Regions from separate parts of the Homo sapiens genome. Here regions 1, 2, 3, 4, 5 and 6 are each linked to region 7. The links are contacts of gene promoters, found by promoter capture Hi-C in blood cells and fetal thymus (Javierre and others, 2016). All regions are on one chromosome and are shown on one strand. The core of a region is centred on a gene start or on the middle of the fragment in contact, and the rest is flanking DNA. Distances in the headings are between cores, read along the strand shown. Region 1 has its middle 240 kb from the start of BCL2. Region 2 has its middle 290 kb from the start of BCL2. Region 3 has its middle 20 kb from the start of SERPINB2. Region 4 holds the start of HMSD (histocompatibility minor serpin domain containing). Region 5 has its middle 37 kb from the start of SERPINB2. Region 6 has its middle 290 kb from the start of PHLPP1. Region 7 holds the start of SERPINB5 (serpin family B member 5).

Region 1 (2,780 bases), core at 21-2,520, 400 kb after region 7:
ATAAAATAAATCCCCATTAAGGCTGATAAATAAAGAAAAATGAACAAATAAACATTAGGAATAGAAAATATAATGTAACCACATATGCAGCAGAAACAAAATCATAAGGGAATCTGTGGCACAATTTTATGTCTATTCTGAAATTGGCTGAATTTTAAAATAGAAAAACTGAATAAAACAATTAGCATTAAAGAAATTGATTTGACAATCAAATATACCTGCCCTCAAGCCACCTCCCCAAAAAGACACTAGTCTTAGCTGATTTCAGCAGTGAATTTCATCAAACCTTTAAGGAAAAGGTCATTGCTATCTTATATAAGCTTCCCAGACAACAGAAAAGGACAGTAGGCCACTGAGTTTAGATAGTGTAGAATTAACACCAAAATGAAACAAGGACAGTACAAGAGACAGAAACTATAGGTTATCTCACTTATAATGTAGATTAAAATTCCTGAATAAATATTAGCAAATGGAATCCAACCAGAGTATTTTTTTTTTAACGATCACAACTAATTTTGATGTTTCCCAGGAAGGTAAGAATGTCAGAAATATCCATCAGGAGAACTTTACAACATTTATAGATCAAAAAGAAATAAAATGACACATTTTATTCTATAAATTCAACACCTTCTCTTATCTAAAAGAAAAACTCTTAGGAAGCTAGAAATGGAAGAGAACTTCCTTAATTTGATGAAGGGTTTTTATCAAAAACCTAAAGCAATCATATCACATCTTTCTGGATTATCCCTATTAAAACCAAGAAAAGGCAAGCAGGGCAGCCATCACCACCCCAGTCAACTTTACACAGAAAATACTAGCGAATGCAGTAAGCAACAAATAAATAAAATGCATAAGGTTTGGAAAGGAAGTGAAAATTTATTATTTTTAGGCATAGAAAATGCATAGATGGGTGGCGCACGGAGACTTATGACTGTAATCCCAGCATTTTGAGAGGGCGAGGCAGGTGGATCACCTGAGGTCGGGAGTTTGAGACCAGCCTGACCAACATGGTGAAACCCCATCTCTACTAAAAATACAAAAAAATTAGCCAGGTGTGGTGGCACGTGTCTGTAACCCCAGCTACTCAGGAGGCTGAGGCAGGAGAATCACTTGAACTGGGAGGCAGAGGTTGCAGTGAGCCAAGATCGAACCATTGCACTCCAGCCTGAGCAACAAGAGCAAAACTCTGTCTCAAAAAAATAAATAAATAAAATAAAATAAGAAAGAAAGAACAAAGAAAATGCATAGATATCAACAGAAAATCTTTTAGAACTAAAAAAGGATTCAGCAAGGCTACTGATTACAAGATCAACATGCAAAATTCAATAACTTTTGAATGTGAACAATAACAAATGGGAAAAAATTGGAAAAAAAAAAAGCCAGCTCACAATAGCAGCAAAACTATAAAGGACCTAAAGAATATACATTACGTACCATTTTTAAGAGCTTTATGGGAAAAAATTATAGTTTTATTAAAGGATATAAAAGAAGATCTGAATAATGGGTAAGAGGTCTCAAAAGCATAAACATGTCAATTCTGCCCAAATTATCTATAAATTTAAGTAAATTCCAAATAAAATCTCAGCAGAACTTTTCTGTTCATTTGTAACGTGATTCTAAAATTCATATGGAAAAGTGAATTATCATTGCCAAGATAATTTCGAAAAATAAGAACAATGGGTGGGCAGGAGCAGTTGGCCTGCGGATTCTGAAACATTCTAGACAGTCACAGAAATTAAAATATAGTTGTCTGAGCAGAGGAAGAGGCAGCGGACAGAATAGAGAGCCTGGTGCAAATCCATGTTCATGCAGGATTCACATGTAGGGGCTACGTGGGATGTGGAATATGATAGCGGTGGCACTAGAGATCAGCAGGGAAAGATGAGCTTGTGCCATCATTGATGATGGAAGCATTGGCTTTTCATATAAAAGACTCCTACACTAATTATACAAAAATTAATTCCAGAAGAATTAAAGACCTCAGCACGAAAAATCGCAACTAAACACTACTGAGACGTGAGACCTCAACCACATCTTGAATGCAAAATTTCATCGAATGTGAATATCATAATTCTATGTATGGAAAATTTTTAAATAAGACAAAGCATAACTGTATGTTGTTCATGAAGATATTTTTTAGTTTAGTTTCTTTTATTTTTATTTTTTTATTTTTAAGTTTGAAGAATATCTTTATGGCCCAAAGTGAATCTGCCAAGCTTTTTAGGCCACCTTGCGTGCATTTTAGTTGTTTCCCCAAGGGAGAATCTGAATCGGTGCCTTCCCTGACTCTTTCCCAGCCAAAATGCGGGCACGTGACCAGGCCTGCCAATCAGACACGGGGGCCTCGGGCCGCGGGAGGGAGCTGGCTGGCTGCGCGTCTCCGGGAGCCGCTGTCATTTCAGTGGCGCATTCTGGGCAAAGGCGGTGTGGTCCCGGGGTGGGCAGCAGATTCCGGAAAGGGTCAGTTGGTTCTGGGAGTGTCCCTTTCATTGTCTCAGGCCTCTTTTCCCATCTGTCCCAAACGTTGTGTGAACTCCCTTCTGTCTCTCCTAAGTTCTTTTCTGCTTAAACTGGTCAGACCGGATTCTACTGCTTACAAATGACAACTGTAACTGACACGCAACCCTGCAGAACAGAAAACATCTTTATAACAAAACATACCCCATCAACGTTAGAGAGGAAAAAACAGGCCTCGAGAAGGTATTTGCAGGATCTATAACAAAGGAATTAATAAAGATATATACTGTATTTATCTTATCAGAGAATTTATCTTTAATGGA
Region 2 (2,700 bases), core at 200-2,699, 450 kb after region 7:
CTTATACTTTATGAATTAAAATTGCAGGTCTAATACCAATGATGTATTTCAAATTGAAATCCCAAAATTGATATATCAGAGCTTCAAATGTATATTGTTTCTACCCCTTATTTATTATGTAGATTATCCTGATTATAAAACTTATTAATAAACTTAACACAAAATATTAATACCACAGGTTTGTTTTCCTTCACCATTTCTCTGCTTATATTAATATAATCTTAGAACTGTAAAGCCACTTAAGTAGAGAGGACAGATTCTTATCACTTGGAACAGCACTGATAAGACTGGGATGAAGTTTCAGGACTACAGTGAAATTGCTTATTGGTCAGAGATTGAGTGGGATGTGGGCATGACTGACCCTACCAAAGCATGGGTGAATATACTGAACCAATTCCATCAACCAGAAACCCAAAGCCACGCTTTTCAACTGGGATTTAGTCTTCAACCAGTGCATCGTGTTTCTATTTTATCCACTTTTTAATCAAACCCTTTTCACCTCTTTATTACCTGAGTTGGGTAGATGTGCCCCTACCCATATTGTAACCAATTTCCTTCATCATTTGTTTGGACTCTAATAACCTCTCTATGGTCTGATTGGATACTATGTGTTACTGTTTGCTTGTTATTTGGTTCTCATCCACAATTCTGCTATCATTTTATTCACAAGGATGGACATTTCATCTGACCAAGGCATGTCAGGAAAGACTTACAGGAAGAAATAATGTCAAAGCCAAGATCTGAAAGATTCATCCATCTATTTTTAAAATATTTATTGAGTAATTAACATATGCAAGTACTGATTTGGTATCTACTGAGTAGCTAACATATTCAGATACTAGTAGTCTAGTGGTGAACGCAACAGATTAAATGGCTGCCCTCATAAAGCTTATCTTTTGGTGGAGGAAGGCAACAAGTAACTAATACGGTATAAATGGGGGGATGACATGTGAGCAGTAACCTGAATGTCAAACAACAGGGGAAGGTGTAAGAAGATAAAGGAAGTCACTAAAAAGGATGACATAGATGAGTGGTTTTCAACTCTGTCAAGCTCAACACCCCTTTATAATAGTAATAAATATTTTGTAATACCCCTCTTTTGTTACCCTGAAATTAAATTCACAGATAATATATTTACTCAGGTGCATAATTTTTTAAAAGAATGTACACAATGGCCTGACCATAATAGAAACAATTCAAATAGAATAAAACCTATGCATTTTTTATCCATATATGTCCAGTCACAAAAACAACTACTGTAGGTATTTCAGAGGAGAGTTAATGTAGAGAATTGGTTACAAAGATTTTGGAAAGGCTGGAAGAGCAAATCGATGAAGGTAGGGTTTTCCAGGATTAGTAACTATAGGGAATGACTACCCCCGAGAACTGGAGAAGCAAAAACAGAAATGGTGTTACTCAGAGTCGCTGGTAGCCAGGCTGTGGCTGCCATCCTTCATAGCATAAGATCCAGGATGAACCAGAAGCCAGTGTCTCCTACTGGCAGACCCTCAAGTGAGGCAAGATGGGAAGGAATCTAGGAGCTGGAACTTGGAGGTTTCCAGCCCCAGAGGCAGAAGGCAGAGCTTAGAAGAAGTGTGCATTGCCAAGAGATCACAGTGTCAATTTGCAATTTTTAGACACAACTACATTTGAAGATACAATGAAGAAGTCAGATGCTTGAATCTACTTTTAAATAAGTTGAGATTTAGTAGGAATAAGACAATGTTCCACTAAATGTAGACACTTTATTTATATGATGTTTAGAAATAGAAGGCTAAATAAGTATATTCACCTCTATGTATAGTCATCACAGATACAGTGACCACCACACACCTATATACAGGTGGTGTGATGTTGTGATGTTGATTGAGCTGCTGTCACTGGCATTGCCATTGCTGACGAGATTCTCCAGGTGGTTGAGTCAACATTTCACAGTAAAAGGTCTAAACACACTATTAGTTGCATTGCTGGAAAATTTAGTGTATACTAAAACCACACCAAAAAGCTTCGTGCTTATATGCAAAATGAAGTTAGGTTTGGGTTTCAAATCATTATAAATTTTTTTTTTACCTGTATGAATGTCCATTAGGATGTTCAAAACTGGGGCTGGACTCGAGTTTTGGAGGACATCTAATTTTTCACTCCTTTGTCTTCTAAATGTCATTTGCACGTTGCCACCACATCCCACTCCCACCTCTCATTATTATGACAACTAAAACTGTCTCCACAGATTTTCGGTCCCCAAAAAAAGAGGCAGCAGTGATTCTGAAAAGACCATTTTTCACATGGAAAATTATTATCGTGGCTGGGCGTGGTGGTTCACGCCTGTAATCCCAGCACTTTGGGAAGCCGATGCAGGTGGGTCACCTGAGGTCAGAAGTTCTAGACCAGCCTGGCCAACATAGTGAAACCCAGTCTCTATTAAAAATACAATAATTACCTGGATGTGGTGGTGGACGTCTGTAATCTCAGTAACTTGGGAGGCTGAGGCAGGAGAATCACTTGAACCCGGGAGGCGGAGGTTGCAGTGAGCCAAGATCACGCCACTGAATTCCAGCCTGGGTGACAGAGCTAGACTCCATCTCAAAAAAAAAAAGAAAACAAAAACAAACAAACAAACAAAAAAACAGAAAAGAAAATTATTACCATCTGTGAAGTGAAAAGCAGGTTAGGAAATAATATTTCAGAATAATTCCCTGT
Region 3 (2,816 bases), core at 14-2,513, 390 kb before region 7:
TTCAAGCAATTCTCCTGCCTCAGACTCGTGAGCAGCTGGGACTACAGGTGCACTACAGCCCACAACAGCCCGGCTAATTTTTGTTTTTTTTTTTAGTAGAGACGGGGTTTCACCATGTTGGCTAGGCTGGTTTGAACTCCTGACCACAAGTGATCCGCCCGCTTTGGCATCCTAAAGGGCTGGGATTACAGGCGTGAGCCACCATACCCAGCCTGCTACAGGCTTTTATAATAGATTATGAAACCTTGTTGTGTAGAAGTGAAAACTAACGCTCTTCCTTGCTTCTAATATAACAAAGCACTTTGAGTATGGGAAAAAAATTGCATCTTGGGATCATTAATAACATGGTTATTACATCTGGCTATAGTTTCACTCTCAAATAATAAAAACCTCAAATAAACCTGGTCTCCCTAATTAGTCACATCCGAAGCTATGGCATGACCCTTATGAATACAACACAAGTACGTGAAAGTCATTGCTTTTTCCACTATCGATGGATTAATGTAAATTTGGAAATCTTGGTAATTTTGCACATAGTTTTCTTCTGAGGTTACCTGTTCTTTCCTTTTCTAAAGCTTTCTGTCTCTGGATCTTTCTTTGATATCTATTTCCCAAGAGATGAAGCTATCTGAGTTCTACTGCTAACCCCAACGGAAACATGCAGGTTACAATGCACCTTGTCTGGATAGTCCAGCAAACCAGAAATAATCGAAAAGCAATTCCAATCTTTGCTTCCATCTCTTGGAAGAAAGAGGGTTTCCAGTTGAGGCCTCCATGACACCACATCAAAAATCCCTTTGCAACTCTTTTCCAATTCTATCAACAACAGCCCTGTGCCTGGACCTTTGCCTCTCCCTCTTGCCTTTGCTCTTCGATGTCTCTCTCTGCTCCCTACTCTCACACGCCCTCTCAGACACCTAAACCCCTTGCTTTACAAAAATTCCTCAGGCCTCTTCCTTTTCCTCCTTTTTATTAGCTCTTAATTAGATCTGTTAACTTACCCTCTGGGTTATACACATTACTCAGTTTCTCCTGCCTAGAAACTAATCCATGAAGCAAGAAACCTCCCCCACATAATAGAAGCAAAGAGAATAGAGAGAGGCAGACCTGTGGTGGAGATTGTGAACACTAATTCATTAACTTAATTTAATGTGTTCATTTAACTTAATGAAAAGCCGTTCATAATTTTTAATTCAATTTAAAATGAAGATTTACATTATATTAATTAAAAAGTATTATGTTATTTTCATAAAACTCAAACATGAGCACAAACAGCTATGCAAAATATTTGCCTCTCCCAATTCCTTACCCCACCCAGTTACTCTCAGCTTGTTTCAACACATTTCTAGCTTTCTGACTCCCAGTTTCTGGTTTCATGTCCCAGGTTTAATGATTGCTTTTGAGACCCTTTGGCTATGACAATTCTAAAATTTCTCTTTCTGTTTCTTTTTTTCTCTTTTTGATAAAGACTTTTCCATCTAGCTTTTAGTTTGTCTTGCTTCTTTGTTTTGATGTTACCATTGCCTGGGATGAGAACTTCACAAAACCCCTCACCACATACACTTGCTTCCCTCACCCCAAATTTAAACAGATAGTGGTATACCTGTCTGACTTGTTCACTACACTATAATTCTACAGTGGAAGTTAAATCATGTTTCTCTCTGCTTTGAGCAATGTAAGTATTCTGCAGATGTTGGCTGAATTAAATGTAATGGAATTATCTTTCACAGTATGAAATTGACCTCCCCACCTACTCAATGCCATCCTCATCATTCTCCGCACCTTCGCTGTGAACTCTGCAGGATTCATTCCAGCTCTTCCTTCCTCCTCCCTCCCCTTCACAGCCCTCTTCTATCAATGCTGGGCTGAGGTAACCACCTACTTCGCACGCCCTTATTTTTGTACTTATATGTAGACAGTGTGTTTAATAGTGAAAAGAACACAAGCTTTGAGTCGATTCATAAAATCATAGTGATGAATAACATTCTACGTGCATAATGACAATTCTGAAATTGCACATTACTATATGCGTTCATGGTACTAAGCAATTTAGCTATATTATCTAATTTAATTTGTATGATAACCATATGTATTAGTACTATGATTGCCCCATTTCATAGAGGAGAAAAACAGAGCTTAAGGATAGTAGAGCACTTGCTCAAGGTTGCACAGCTAGTTAGTCAGGATGTCAAGGCCCCATTCTTATCAACTGTATCTTAACAAAATCCCAATCAACTTTTAACGTCTACTCCAACTTACCTGGATAACTTTGGACAATTTATTAAGCTCTCTCATATCTTTATATGTAAAATGGGCTTTAATATGATCTATCATTTAGTTTTTGTGTGAAATTAAATGCAATAATACATAAAGCATTTATTCATATTTAGTATTGGGCACATGGAAGTGGCTCCATAAATGCAGTCATATCCCTATTTTCCCCATCATCATCATAATTTATGACATTAATTAAACTTTTTTTTTTTATTATACTCTAAGTTTTAGGGTACATGTGCACATTGTGCAGGTTAGTTACATATGTATACATGTGCCATGCTGGTGCACTGCACCCACTAACGTGTCATCTAGCATTAGGTATATCTCCCAATGCTATCCCTCCCCCCTCCCCCGACCCCACCACAGTCCCCAGAGTGTGATATTCCCCTTCCTGTGTCCATGTGATCTCATTGTTCAATTCCCACCTATGAGTGAGAATATGCGGTGTTTGGTTTTTTGTTCTTGCGATAGTTTACTGAGAATGATGGTTTCCAATTTCATCCATGTCCCTACAAAGGACATGAACTCATCATTTTTTA
Region 4 (2,749 bases), core at 167-2,666, 470 kb before region 7:
TTTTTTTTGCCAAATGCCTTTCCTTGAAATGAAATACTATTTGAGGTTCTCGTGCATCTGATTTGCGTAACACAGAGTTCTATCCACAAGTTGGCTTTCAAAGTCTCCTGGTTTAATATTTAGGCCTTCAGGTTGGTTTTTGTAACCACTGTGCCTGTCAACCTAGGTGCCTATAGTCACTATTCCTACACAGCAGTCGTATATGAATCATCACACAGCATTTCTTGTAAACATTATTGAAATTATTTCCTGCCTCCTTTAAACTCATCTTACATTTTTTTTTTTTTTTTTTTTTTTTTTTGAGAGAGAGTCTCGCTTTGTCCCTCAGGCTGGAGTGCAGTGGTGCAATCTTGGCTCACTGCAACCTCTGCCTCCCAGGTTCAAGCGATTCTTCTGCCTCAGCCTCCTGAGTAGCTGGGACTACAGGCCCATGTCACGACACCCGGCTAATTTTTGTATTTTTAGTAGAGACTGGGTTTCACCATATTGGCCAGGCTGGGTCTCGAACTCCTGACCTCGTGATCCGCCCCCCTCAGCCTCCCAAAGTGCTGGGATTACAAGCGTGAGCCACCGCGCCTGGCCCATTTTACTTGTTTTATCTGAATTTACTAAAGGACTCTTTCTTGGCTTTGTTGTAACATGTATTTCAATTAACACATACTGGTTTTTGTTCTTGAGCAAATTCTCACAACTTGTCTACTGGGAATCTCTGTAAATTGGTTACTTTCTTTTTACACTATCCCAACACTTTTGCTTTCTGGCAACAGTATCGTCCTCATTTTGATTTTTTTCCAGTCCAAAAACATACTATCAACGCCTCTCCTGGTTTCTTTTAAAGGAGGAGGAATGTCAAGTACAAATTCTGAATACTGAGAGCATACGAGTTTCGGTACCGACAAATAAATACTGCTGCTGTTGTTTTTCCTGGAGGTCCCAGGCCTCACAGCCCCTTCCAGCGCCCAACATAAACTTCACCAGGGTGGGAGGCCTCATTGTACCTACTTCCAGCTCCTGCAGGATGAGTGGAGCCCAGGCAGGACTTTCACCCCCCAGCTCCGCGCCCATTCGCCCTGGCCTCCCCTCCCCGCGCCTGGACCCATAGGGCACACAGCCAAGTGCAGCCAAGTCCCTGCCCTTAGGGAGCCCCCGCCAGAGACCGAGTAAAGAAGGACAGCCCCAGGGAAAGGTCTGGAGCAACAGGTGCGCTGAGCACTTCACTGGGCTTCCCTTTCGTAGGTTCCCGCCCTTTTCCTGGGCTCAAGAGCAGGTAACGAGAATCCAGCGTGTGGGAACCACTCCCAAAGTCAAACACCTACCCCAGTTCTCCGCGCAGCTGCCCAGGAGCGAAGTGAGACCGGGTCGGAGAGGCGGGAATAGAGATGTCTGAGCGGCGCCGGGTGTTAGTTCCCAGTGAATGGGGAGGCGGGCGGAGTCGGGCCCAGCCAGGCACCACCTAGCGGGCGCCTGGGCAGGAGGGCGGGGCGGGTCCCGCAGGCCGCGGGGATCTCCTGATGTGCAGGAAGTGGCCAATCTCTGTGCAGGAAAAAGCCCCAACTGTCCGGGAGTTTTCAGTCAAGAAGCGATAATGCGCTTTGGCTATTTGGGGTTTTTCGTGGTTCCATACAAATTATAGGGTTTTTTTTTTTTTCTATTTCTGTGAAGAATGACATTGGTATTTTGACAGGGATTGCATTCAATCTGTAAATTGTTTGGGTAGCATTGTACTTTTAACATTAATTATTCCAACCTATGAGCATGAATATGTGTCCATTTTCTGTGTGTGTTCTTCACGTTTTTCTCATCAGTGTTTTATAGTTGTCCTTGTAGAAGTCTTTCACTTTTTTAATTAAATTGATTACTAGGTATTTTATACATCATATTTCTTATAGCTATTGTAAGTGGGATTTCTTTCTTGATTTCTTTTTCAGACTGTTCACTGTAGATGTATAGACATCTTACGGATATTTTATATCCATTTTGTATTCTGCAACTTTACTGATTCATTTATTAGTTCTAGTAGTTTTTGAGGGGAGTCTTTTGGTTTTTCCGATTATAAGATTATACCATTGGTGAGCAAAGCTAATTTTACATCTTTCTTTCCAGTTTGGGTGTCCTTTGTTTCTTTTTCTTGCCTAATTGCCCCGGCCAGGACTTCCAGTCAGATACTGAATAAAGGGGGTGAAACTGGGCATCCTTGTCTTGTTGCAGATCTTATAGGAAAGGTTTTCAATTTTTCCCTGTTCAGTATGATATTAGCAGTGGGTTTTTCATTTTGGTTTTTATTGTTTTGAGGTATATTCCTTCTATACCCAATGTGTTAAGGATTTTTATCATAAAGAGATGTAGGATTTTACTGAATACATTTTCGGCATCTATTGAAATGATCGTGCAGTTTTTGTTGTTGGTTCTTTTAATGCAATGTATCGCATTTATTGATTTGTGTATATTGAATCATACTTGCATACCCGGGTGAATCTCACTTGATCGTGGTGAGTGATCTGTTTAATGTGTTGTTGAATTGGAGTTGCTAGCAATTTTTTGAGGATTTTTTCTGTTTTTTACCTGTTGATATGACGGATTCCTTTGATTTTCAAATGTTGAATTAGTCTTGTACACCTGCAATCAATCTTACTTAGTCACAATGTATAATCCAACTATTTTACACATAGTTTGATTTCATTTGTGAATATGTTGTTCAGGATTTTGCATCTATACTAATGAAAGATATTGGTCTTTAAGTTTCTTTTCT
Region 5 (2,700 bases), core at 61-2,560, 370 kb before region 7:
CTGCCTCTCAGTTCAAGTGATTCTCCCTGCCTCAGCCTCCTGAGTAGCTGGGATTACAGATGCCTGCCACCACATCTGGCTAATTTTTTTTTTTTTTTTTTTTAGTAGAGATGGGATTTCACCATGTGGGTGAGGCTGGTCTCAAACTCCTGACCTTAGGTGATCTGCCCGCCTCGGCCTCCCAAAGTGCTGAGATTATATGGGTGAGCCACCGTGCCCGGGCAAGACCTATTGTTTTCATAAAAAGAAGAAATATGTTATCAAATATCTCATTACTCCCAGCACAAGCCCTGTTTTATCACTCACAATCAACATATAGCAACCGTTTGCCTAATTCTTCCCTACCTTTGGATTCCTAGCTCACCCTTTGACCTTGTCTCCTATTGATGCTTCCCTGGTGCTAACAGTGGCTTCTCTCCATTAGATACAATAGTTTCTGACAATCTATATATGATTAGTGCATACCTTGCATTATTCTTGAAAGACAGCATTAGAAATGGATTCCACCTAAATATACTGTCAATAGGAATAATCTCCTATACTAGACTAGACGATGTCTAAAATCTTACCATCAATGCGGCCACAGTCTACTGTCTCTGCTAATCCACGTCTAAATCTAGGACATGACTGTGCGGGGCTTAGTATTACATTCTAAGAGAGTTATCCTGTTCAGCACACAGATTAAGGCCACACCACTGTAAGAGGGGAAGCAATTTCAATGAACATGTCAATCACTGGAAAGTGAAGGAGGTGCTAAAACAGAAAATACAGTTCAGAGGTAACTATGAGTGAGGGGGGAGGGAACTGTATTTCTCTCTAGGTCCAGCGTTGAAGACATTTAAATGCCTGGATTTTTGATTGTGTGTACTAGGTATTAAGAGTCACCCTGACTGTGGAGGAGGGCCCGAGATCAGGATGGGACATGTTCAAGCCCCAGAGTGCAAGCATATTTTGTAAGATATCATCCAGTTTTACATTGTTCTGTTTGGTTGACTCCACATCCTTTAGTTAAGTCTCCTTAAACAATTTCTATTTTGTCTCATCATACCTCAGAGAATTAAAAGGAAAATGAAGTTTGGCAAACAAGAATTATTTTCTATTATCAACCCTAAAGAAGCCGAATTTTATTTTTATTAAGGAAATACAGTACTTCCATACTTGATTCTCAAAGAGCATTTTCTGATTTTTTTCATTGTGTTATCCGACTACAGTCCCCTTGTTTAAAACCTTAAAATATTCTATTATTTTCTGTTGTAACATTTATTATAATAATAGTGGTAGAGTTCATGGTGTTATTTTCTTTATTTCCCTCATTGGCTTGGTAACTATACGCTATCAGAGACCAAGTCTTCTTTCATTTCCTGCAGCATTTCAGTATTCTCAACTGATGTCAATAAATAATTAAGTCCCGCATATTGTGTAAAGCAGGATTTCTCAACATCAGCACTGTTGACATTTTGGGCTGGGTAATTATTTGTTGTGGGGCTGTCCTTTACATTGTAGCATGTTCAGCCACATCTCTGGCTTCTAACCACCGGATGGCAGTAGCAGCCCTTCCCTACAATTCTGACCATCAAAGATGTCTCTAGACACAGAGCCAGATGTCGCCCAGGGGCAAAATCACCCTTAGTTGAGAACCATGATCAAGAATATTGCAGCATTCAAAATGCTTTCAGGTTAAAAAATAAAGAATACTGCATCATTCAAAATTCTTTCACAAAAAAAGATGATTGTTAAAAGTTGAATGATAGTAGTGATAAATAAAAATCTGGCTTAAATTGATTGAATCATGTAATTTTCAAACATTTATTTTGGCAATTTCCAAAAGCCTCAAAATAGATGGAAGAAAGGGAAGTAGCATTAATAGATCATACCTACTAGGCACTAGGCACTTACCTTACAGTGATTCATCTAATGATCCACAAAATGTAATGAAATAAGTTAATATCAGGACTCCAGAGAAGGGTCTGTTTTCTGAGGTATTCTCCACAAAATGTAATGAAATAAGTTAATATCAGGACTCCAGAGAAGGCTCTGTTTTCTGAGGCATTCTCCACTGACCATTCACCATTAGTGTAATAATTTTTAAAATAGCATAATAGTTAAGCCCATGGGCTATAGTGGTAGCTAGAGGGTTCCAGGCCTGGTGTTGCCATCTGTTAGCTGTGGGACTAGGGCAAGTTATAAGCACTCTGTGAGCTTCAATTTCCTCACCCATGAAGATGGATTTAATTATAGTACTCCCTTCATAGGTTTTGTGAGAATTAAGTGACATAATGCATACAAAGTGTTTAAAACATTGCCCAAACCTTAGTACCCAATAAATATTGCTTCTAAAAATAAAATTAACTTTACATCAAAAGGAGCACACCAATTGCAAGCACCTAAATAGTAAGACATAACCCGATTTCAGAGACTTTAAAAATACCTTAAGCATTTATCTGATAACTCATGTTGTTGTCCATCTTTTCATGTGCTTATTGGCCATCTGTATATTTTCTTATGTAAGGTGTCTGCTAGAATATTTTGCATGTGTTTTAACTGAATGTTTTTCTTTGAGTTTATTATTTTGAATATAAGACCTTTATCTGCTATATGTGTACAAATATTTTCTCCCAATTTCTGATTCACCTTTTTGTTTACTAGGAAGAGCAAATGTTTTTACTTTTGATAAACTCCAATTATCCTTTTTTTCATTTA
Region 6 (2,700 bases), core at 64-2,563, 470 kb after region 7:
AGACAAGGAGTGAACCCTAATGTAAACTACAGATTTCAGTTGATAATTATGTCAATATTGGCTCCTGAACTGTAACACGTGTACAATTTGTAAGATGCTGATAATAAGGGAAGCTGTGTGTAGGGAGAAGAGAGGGTATTTGGGAACTCTGTACTTTCTGGGCAATTTTTTCTGTAAACCTAAAACTGTTCTTAAAAATGAAGTCTATTAATTAAAAAGAACAACATAGCGAAGTCAAAAGACTGGAAAAAAATATTTGCAATTTGTATTACAGACAAAAGACTAATTTCCTGAATGTATAAAGCACCAGAAAATTGAAGGGCCAACAACTTGAATGAAAAAACTGATAAAAGACACAACAGATAATTCACCAAAAAAGAATGCAAATGACCCTTAAAGGTATGAAAAAATATGAAACTCCACTCATAAGAGAAAGGCAAATTAAAGCCATACTACGGTGCCATTTCTCACCTATCAGATCGGCAAATATTCACAGCTATGATAAGCGTTCTGTGATCAGGGTGGAGGAAACAGGCACCTTCGTATATTGTTGTTAAGAATGCGAAACAGCAGGCCGGGCGTGGTGGCTCACGCCTGTAATCCCAGCACTTTGGGAGGCCGAGGCAGGCGGATCACGAGGTCAGGAGATCGAGACCATCCTGGCTAACAAGGTGAAACCCCGTCTCTACTAAAATTACAAAAAATTAGCCGGGCATGGTGGCAGGCGCCTGTAGTCCCAGCTACTCTGAAGGCTGAGGCAGGAGAAAGGCGTGAACCTGGGAGGCGGAGCTTGCAGTGAGTGGAGATCGTGCCACTGCACTCCAGCCTGGGCGACAGAGCAAGACTCCATCTCAAAAAAAAAAAAAAAAAAAAAAAAAGAATGCAAAACAGCACGACCTTTATGAAAGGGAATTTGGCAATATCTACAAAAATTGCATATGCTTTACCCTTTGACTCGGTAAATTCACTTCTAGAAATCCATCCCAAGGAAATATTGGGAAAAAAAAAAAAAAAGCAAAATGCCCAGGCACGGTGACTCACACCTGTAATCCCAGAACTTTGGGAGGCTGAGGTGGGAGGATTGCTTGACTCCAGGAGTTCAAGACCAGCCTGGGCAACATATTGAGACCCCGTCTCTACAAAAATTTAAAAATTAGCTGGGTGTGGTGGCACATACCTGTAGTCCCAGCTACTTGGGAGGCTGAGGTGGGAGGTTCCCTTGAGCCCAGGACCTCCAGGCTGCAGTGAGCCATGATTCTGCCACCGCACTCCAGCCTGGGCAACAGGGGGAGACCCTGCCTCAAAAAAAGGAAAAGAAAAGAATTAAAGAAAACTAATAAAAATGGTTAGCAAGAACAGAAACTACACTGCTTGAGATTACCTTCTTATAGGTTTAACTTTGGGCCATGTAACTAAAAAAATTACTAACGAGCATCCCTTTTTCCTGGTTCCAGGTCACTCTGCACAAGGCTGCAAGAAACATCCTTACACATATGTCCTTACATGCTGACGCTTTCATTTCTACAGGATGGAACCCTAAGAGAGGAATTGTTGAAGAAGTCATACATTTTTAAAATTATGGAAATTGTCAAGCATGCAGAAATAGAAAGATATGTATAATGAACCTAATGTATATTAATCAGCTGGCAGAGTCTCACAGAGAAAGAATGGCTTTGGTGGCCTTTAGAGGCAGTATTTTGACTGTACATACTTGGCGGAATATGCCCTCAGGACAAGAAAGAACAGCAAAATAATTTAAAACTGGCCACAGGAGCCAAAACTTAAAAGGGCTCCCACTGATGTGAGCTGGAACAATTTGAGTATTTAAAAAAACAATAAATGCAATGTATTGAAACACATAAAATACACAAAATCCATGAATTAACAATTGCACTAAAAAAAATTATTGGTCACTGTTGGAGAACACTAGGGCATCAGTTCATTATTCTGAAAATTGATACAGAAAAAGAAGCCAACATTTATTCTGCCTTTCCTGAACAAATCATATTTCAGGGCAACCAAACAGTTCATAAGGCAGTTTGCTTTTATCCAAGAATTCCAGCTAATTATTTCAGAAGGAATGACAGAGCTAGAAATCGCCATTTTGTAACATCTCTCGGAATAATGGACCTAGGCTGCATTATGAGCAGAGGGTCAGAGCACTCGGTGAAAAGTTGATAGGAATTTTATCTTGGACTGATCAGACTGACATACTCTGAAGCTGCTGACCAATATTTGGTATCCCCCATGTGCATGTGCTAATTACCTATCTATATGAACATATAGGCCATAGGAATATGTATATATTGGAAAGTGTAGAAAACAACACTAGGTTAATATAGATCACCGGGAGCGGGGAGTTTGGATGGTTCAATCCTATTTATGTAAGGCGACATGTGTTTATGTGTGCTAAAAGCAAGGCAAGAAAGGAGGATCACCGAAGCTGTTAGGGTCGTCTTTGCTCAGATCGTTCCACCCCTGAGAAGCCTCCCCTCCCATGCTCTCCAGCACAGAGCTCACGCCCCTTGGCCATGCTGAATCATGAGGTGGTCTTACCATAGGAGGACAGGACGCCAATACACAGGAGAGCTTGGTGCAGTACGTGTGTGCAGGATTCTGCTACATAGCCTGGTTCACCGGGACCTGGCACCACACATAGGCCTTGCAGAGAAGGCAATCCCAGCCAGACCCACGGCAGAG
Region 7 (2,700 bases), core at 46-2,545:
GCCCAAATCGCTGAGACTGCATAGCCCCAAAGTCAATCCACAACCCAGAGGGATTGAAGTGGCACAATTCAAGGCGTTAGGAAGCAAAGATATAAACCTGCTGACTCATTTCCTTTGGAGACTCCTTTCCTCAGACAGGCTTCATCTCCACCCATGAAGGAACTCATCGAACACTTACACTAACTGACAGGGACTGAGGTTTGGAACCCATTATCGAAAACCTCCCGGGAGATGTAGGGGATGAAAAAGATGGTAACAGAACCCACGGTGTTGTGGAAACATCCCGAGCTGCAAGTGTGAAGGCCTGATTTGATCTCAGCGGTGCTACTTACAAGCTGTGTGCCTTTGGACACCAGATCACCTCTGTGAGTTCTGCTCCTCATCTACAGAATGAGGGGGCTGGGCTGAAATATGTCTAAGAGCCCCCAGCTCTGAGGATCTGGTTACAAGTCTCTGGAATAGCCTGGCATGTTGGTTTTTAGTATGATATGCTTAAATGAAGCCATAAGAAAAAGTGTACAGCATATGAGTAAGAAACTACAAGCAGCTATTACAATTTATAAGTCCAAGAATATGCATCTGAAATGTGTAACTTGTTTAAAGTTATGCTGAAACCCAGAAAACTGAAGGGAGAATAATTTCCGCTTAGAAGAATGCAGTTGCAAGTAGATGAACAGCGATCTGATGCTTAAAAATGCCAAAAAGAAGGGCAGTCCATATGCCTAAATCTCAGCCTTACAACGTCAGCCAGGGAGAAGAGCCAGCCAGACCCACCAATACTTCTCAACTTTCCCCAGTTTGCGGGTACCACACCCTTTCTGAAACTAGCATTGCAAAATTCATTCTGAGTTCCAAAGTAGGCCTGAAAATGTCCTCAGAAGTATTTTCTCCTCCGTGAATCACGGTTGCACCCCTCTACCACCAAAACCTCCGAGCCACGTGACTTCTTCATATTCTTACCTTGTATGGTTAAGTGATTTTACTCCCTCTGCAGTGTTCCTGGTGCTCAAAGGGTTGGGAGCTGGAAATACTGCCAACATGGGGGATGAGAGGCGACAGTACTCAACCCAACAGCCCGTCTTTGAAAACAGCCCCAAAATGGACCTAAGTCCATTTTGTTCACCATCTCAAATCAGCTCAAATAACGATATTTATGAATTTCCCTGAAAAAAGGAAGTCACCAGCCCTGCTACCCCACCTTGCTTACCTGGAGTCACAGTTATCCTGGAAAATGCGTGGAAAAGGAACAGGCAAGCGAGGAGCACAAAGACCTGGATGTGGAGGCGACCGTGTCTGGGCAGAAGCAGCGGTGGCTCACCTGGGCAGCACCGCCACGCCCACTGCCAGCCCAGCTCCACGCCCCGCCCCGCCCCGCCTCGGCGGCACTCCTCTCCTACTCAAGCCTCTTGGCAGCTTGTCCACAATTGAAAGAAATGATTCAGGCTGAAGTTACTGTTGTCTGCACAGCTTCCAAAAGGCCTCCAACATGTTCGGGCAGGAAGGGGCTGTGAGTTACATGCATACGTACAGACATGCGTACGGCAATCCTCTCGGCCCACGCAGGACCGGAAGGTGAAATATTCGATGAAATAAAAGTAATGTGTGATGATAGTAACACTACAAATTTCTCAGACACGTTGGTGGCACAAAAAGTACTCTGATCTCCATTCTTTTTGTGTAAACTGCAGCAGCTCATTCTGCTAGATGCCAAGAGAGGTAGCTGCCCATTAAACAGAAAGACAATCAAAAAAGAAGGAATGGATATATGTATAAACACAGTGCCTACCTAAAAATTAGGTACTATTAGCAAAATATTTACTACCAAATTGGTAGGAGATATTGTTTAATGGGTGGCGCAGGAAGTTTCTTTTTAAAATCCTGTGATTAGGATTACTCAGGCCTGGCGCGGTGGCTCACGCCTGTAATCCCAGCATTTGGGGAGGTTGACGTGAGCGGATTGCTTGAGCCCAGGAGTTTGAGACCAACCTGGGCAACATGGTGAGACCCCATCTCTACAAAAAATGTAAAACAATAGCCTAGTGTGGTGATGCATGCCTGTGGTCCCAGTTACTTGGAAAGCTGAGACGAGAGGATCACTTGAGCCTGGGAGGTCAAAGCTGCAGTGAGCCGTGAGCTAACCACTGTACTTCAGCCTGGGTGACAGAGCAAAAGAAACAAAAAGAAAAAGGAGTACGCAGCTCTGCTCTGAAATCTCTTCGTGGAGCCTGTTCTTGTCCTCCTGTCTTCCCACAGCTTCTTCATTTGGCGGGACCTACTCCCTTCCAGCCGAATCAGTCTCAGGAAAGGACCTGAAACGGAGCTGGTTGCTTCTCTGCTGTGCTTATCTAGAATTCCCTATTGTACATTTACTACATTGTTTCATAATAATCTCTTACATTCTCCTATATGTGACTACAACAATGTTAAAGGTAAGTGCCAAACTTCATTCATTTTTATAACACCAAAGCTTGGTACAGACCTGATGTACAGTATGCAGTCAATAAGTGCTTGTTGAGTAATGAATAAGAGCAACTCGCTATATTAACTGACTAAACTAAGATTGATAACAGCTTCCCCTCCCCCATGTCCTGGGTATTTTAATGTTAACCAGAATCAAAGTCATAAACTAAGTGAACTCCAAAAACAGAATTTTAGGCATCAGTGGAGCAAGTGGAGGGAAGGTCATAGGTGAGGAGGTGT

Evidence for each region. The method cuts DNA at HindIII sites, captures the fragments that hold promoters and counts their contacts. A CHiCAGO score of 5 or more calls a contact.
Region 1: a contact is called between a fragment that was not itself captured here and the fragment with the promoter of SERPINB5 in region 7, in 1 of 17 cell types (endothelial precursors). The highest score is 6.5, in endothelial precursors.
Region 2: a contact is called between a fragment that was not itself captured here and the fragment with the promoter of SERPINB5 in region 7, in 1 of 17 cell types (M2 macrophages). The highest score is 5.1, in M2 macrophages.
Region 3: a fragment that was not itself captured here is called in contact with the fragment with the promoter of SERPINB5 in region 7 in 2 of 17 cell types (M1 macrophages and M2 macrophages); the score reaches 7.6 in M1 macrophages.
Region 4: a contact is called between the fragment with the promoter of HMSD here and the fragment with the promoter of SERPINB5 in region 7, in 11 of 17 cell types (erythroblasts, naive B cells, naive CD8 T cells and 8 more). The highest score is 7.8, in erythroblasts.
Region 5: a contact is called between a fragment that was not itself captured here and the fragment with the promoter of SERPINB5 in region 7, in 4 of 17 cell types (M2 macrophages, M1 macrophages, M0 macrophages and 1 more). The highest score is 7.0, in M2 macrophages.
Region 6: a fragment that was not itself captured here is called in contact with the fragment with the promoter of SERPINB5 in region 7 in 2 of 17 cell types (activated CD4 T cells and M2 macrophages); the score reaches 5.7 in activated CD4 T cells.

Annotation. Positions count from the first base shown.
Region 1 is chr18:63,074,858-63,077,637 of GRCh38, reverse strand. No RefSeq gene overlaps it. Among named protein-coding and RNA genes, the nearest start is that of BCL2, 240 kb to the left of the region's middle. The HindIII fragment of the contact is 1,896 bases long and covers 323-2,218 here.
Region 2 is chr18:63,026,871-63,029,570 of GRCh38, reverse strand. No RefSeq gene overlaps it. Among named protein-coding and RNA genes, the nearest start is that of BCL2, 290 kb to the left of the region's middle. The HindIII fragment of the contact is 1,117 bases long and covers 891-2,007 here.
Region 3 is chr18:63,866,078-63,868,893 of GRCh38, reverse strand. No RefSeq gene overlaps it. Among named protein-coding and RNA genes, the nearest start is that of SERPINB2, 20 kb to the left of the region's middle. The HindIII fragment of the contact is 1,371 bases long and covers 578-1,948 here.
Region 4 is chr18:63,947,968-63,950,716 of GRCh38, reverse strand. HMSD (histocompatibility minor serpin domain containing) reads right to left here and starts at 1,416. Exons shown (of 4, transcript NM_001123366.2): 1 at 1,317-1,416. RefSeq lists a silencer at 1,349-1,578. The HindIII fragment of the contact is 6,685 bases long and covers 1-2,749 here.
Region 5 is chr18:63,849,015-63,851,714 of GRCh38, reverse strand. No RefSeq gene overlaps it. Among named protein-coding and RNA genes, the nearest start is that of SERPINB2, 37 kb to the left of the region's middle. The HindIII fragment of the contact is 8,549 bases long and covers 1-2,700 here.
Region 6 is chr18:63,006,333-63,009,032 of GRCh38, reverse strand. No RefSeq gene overlaps it. Among named protein-coding and RNA genes, the nearest start is that of PHLPP1, 290 kb to the right of the region's middle. The HindIII fragment of the contact is 3,147 bases long and covers 1-2,700 here.
Region 7 is chr18:63,475,553-63,478,252 of GRCh38, reverse strand. SERPINB5 (serpin family B member 5) reads right to left here and starts at 1,295. Exons shown (of 7, transcript NM_002639.5): 1 at 1,208-1,295. RefSeq lists an enhancer at 1,347-2,546. The HindIII fragment of the contact is 5,766 bases long and covers 1-2,469 here.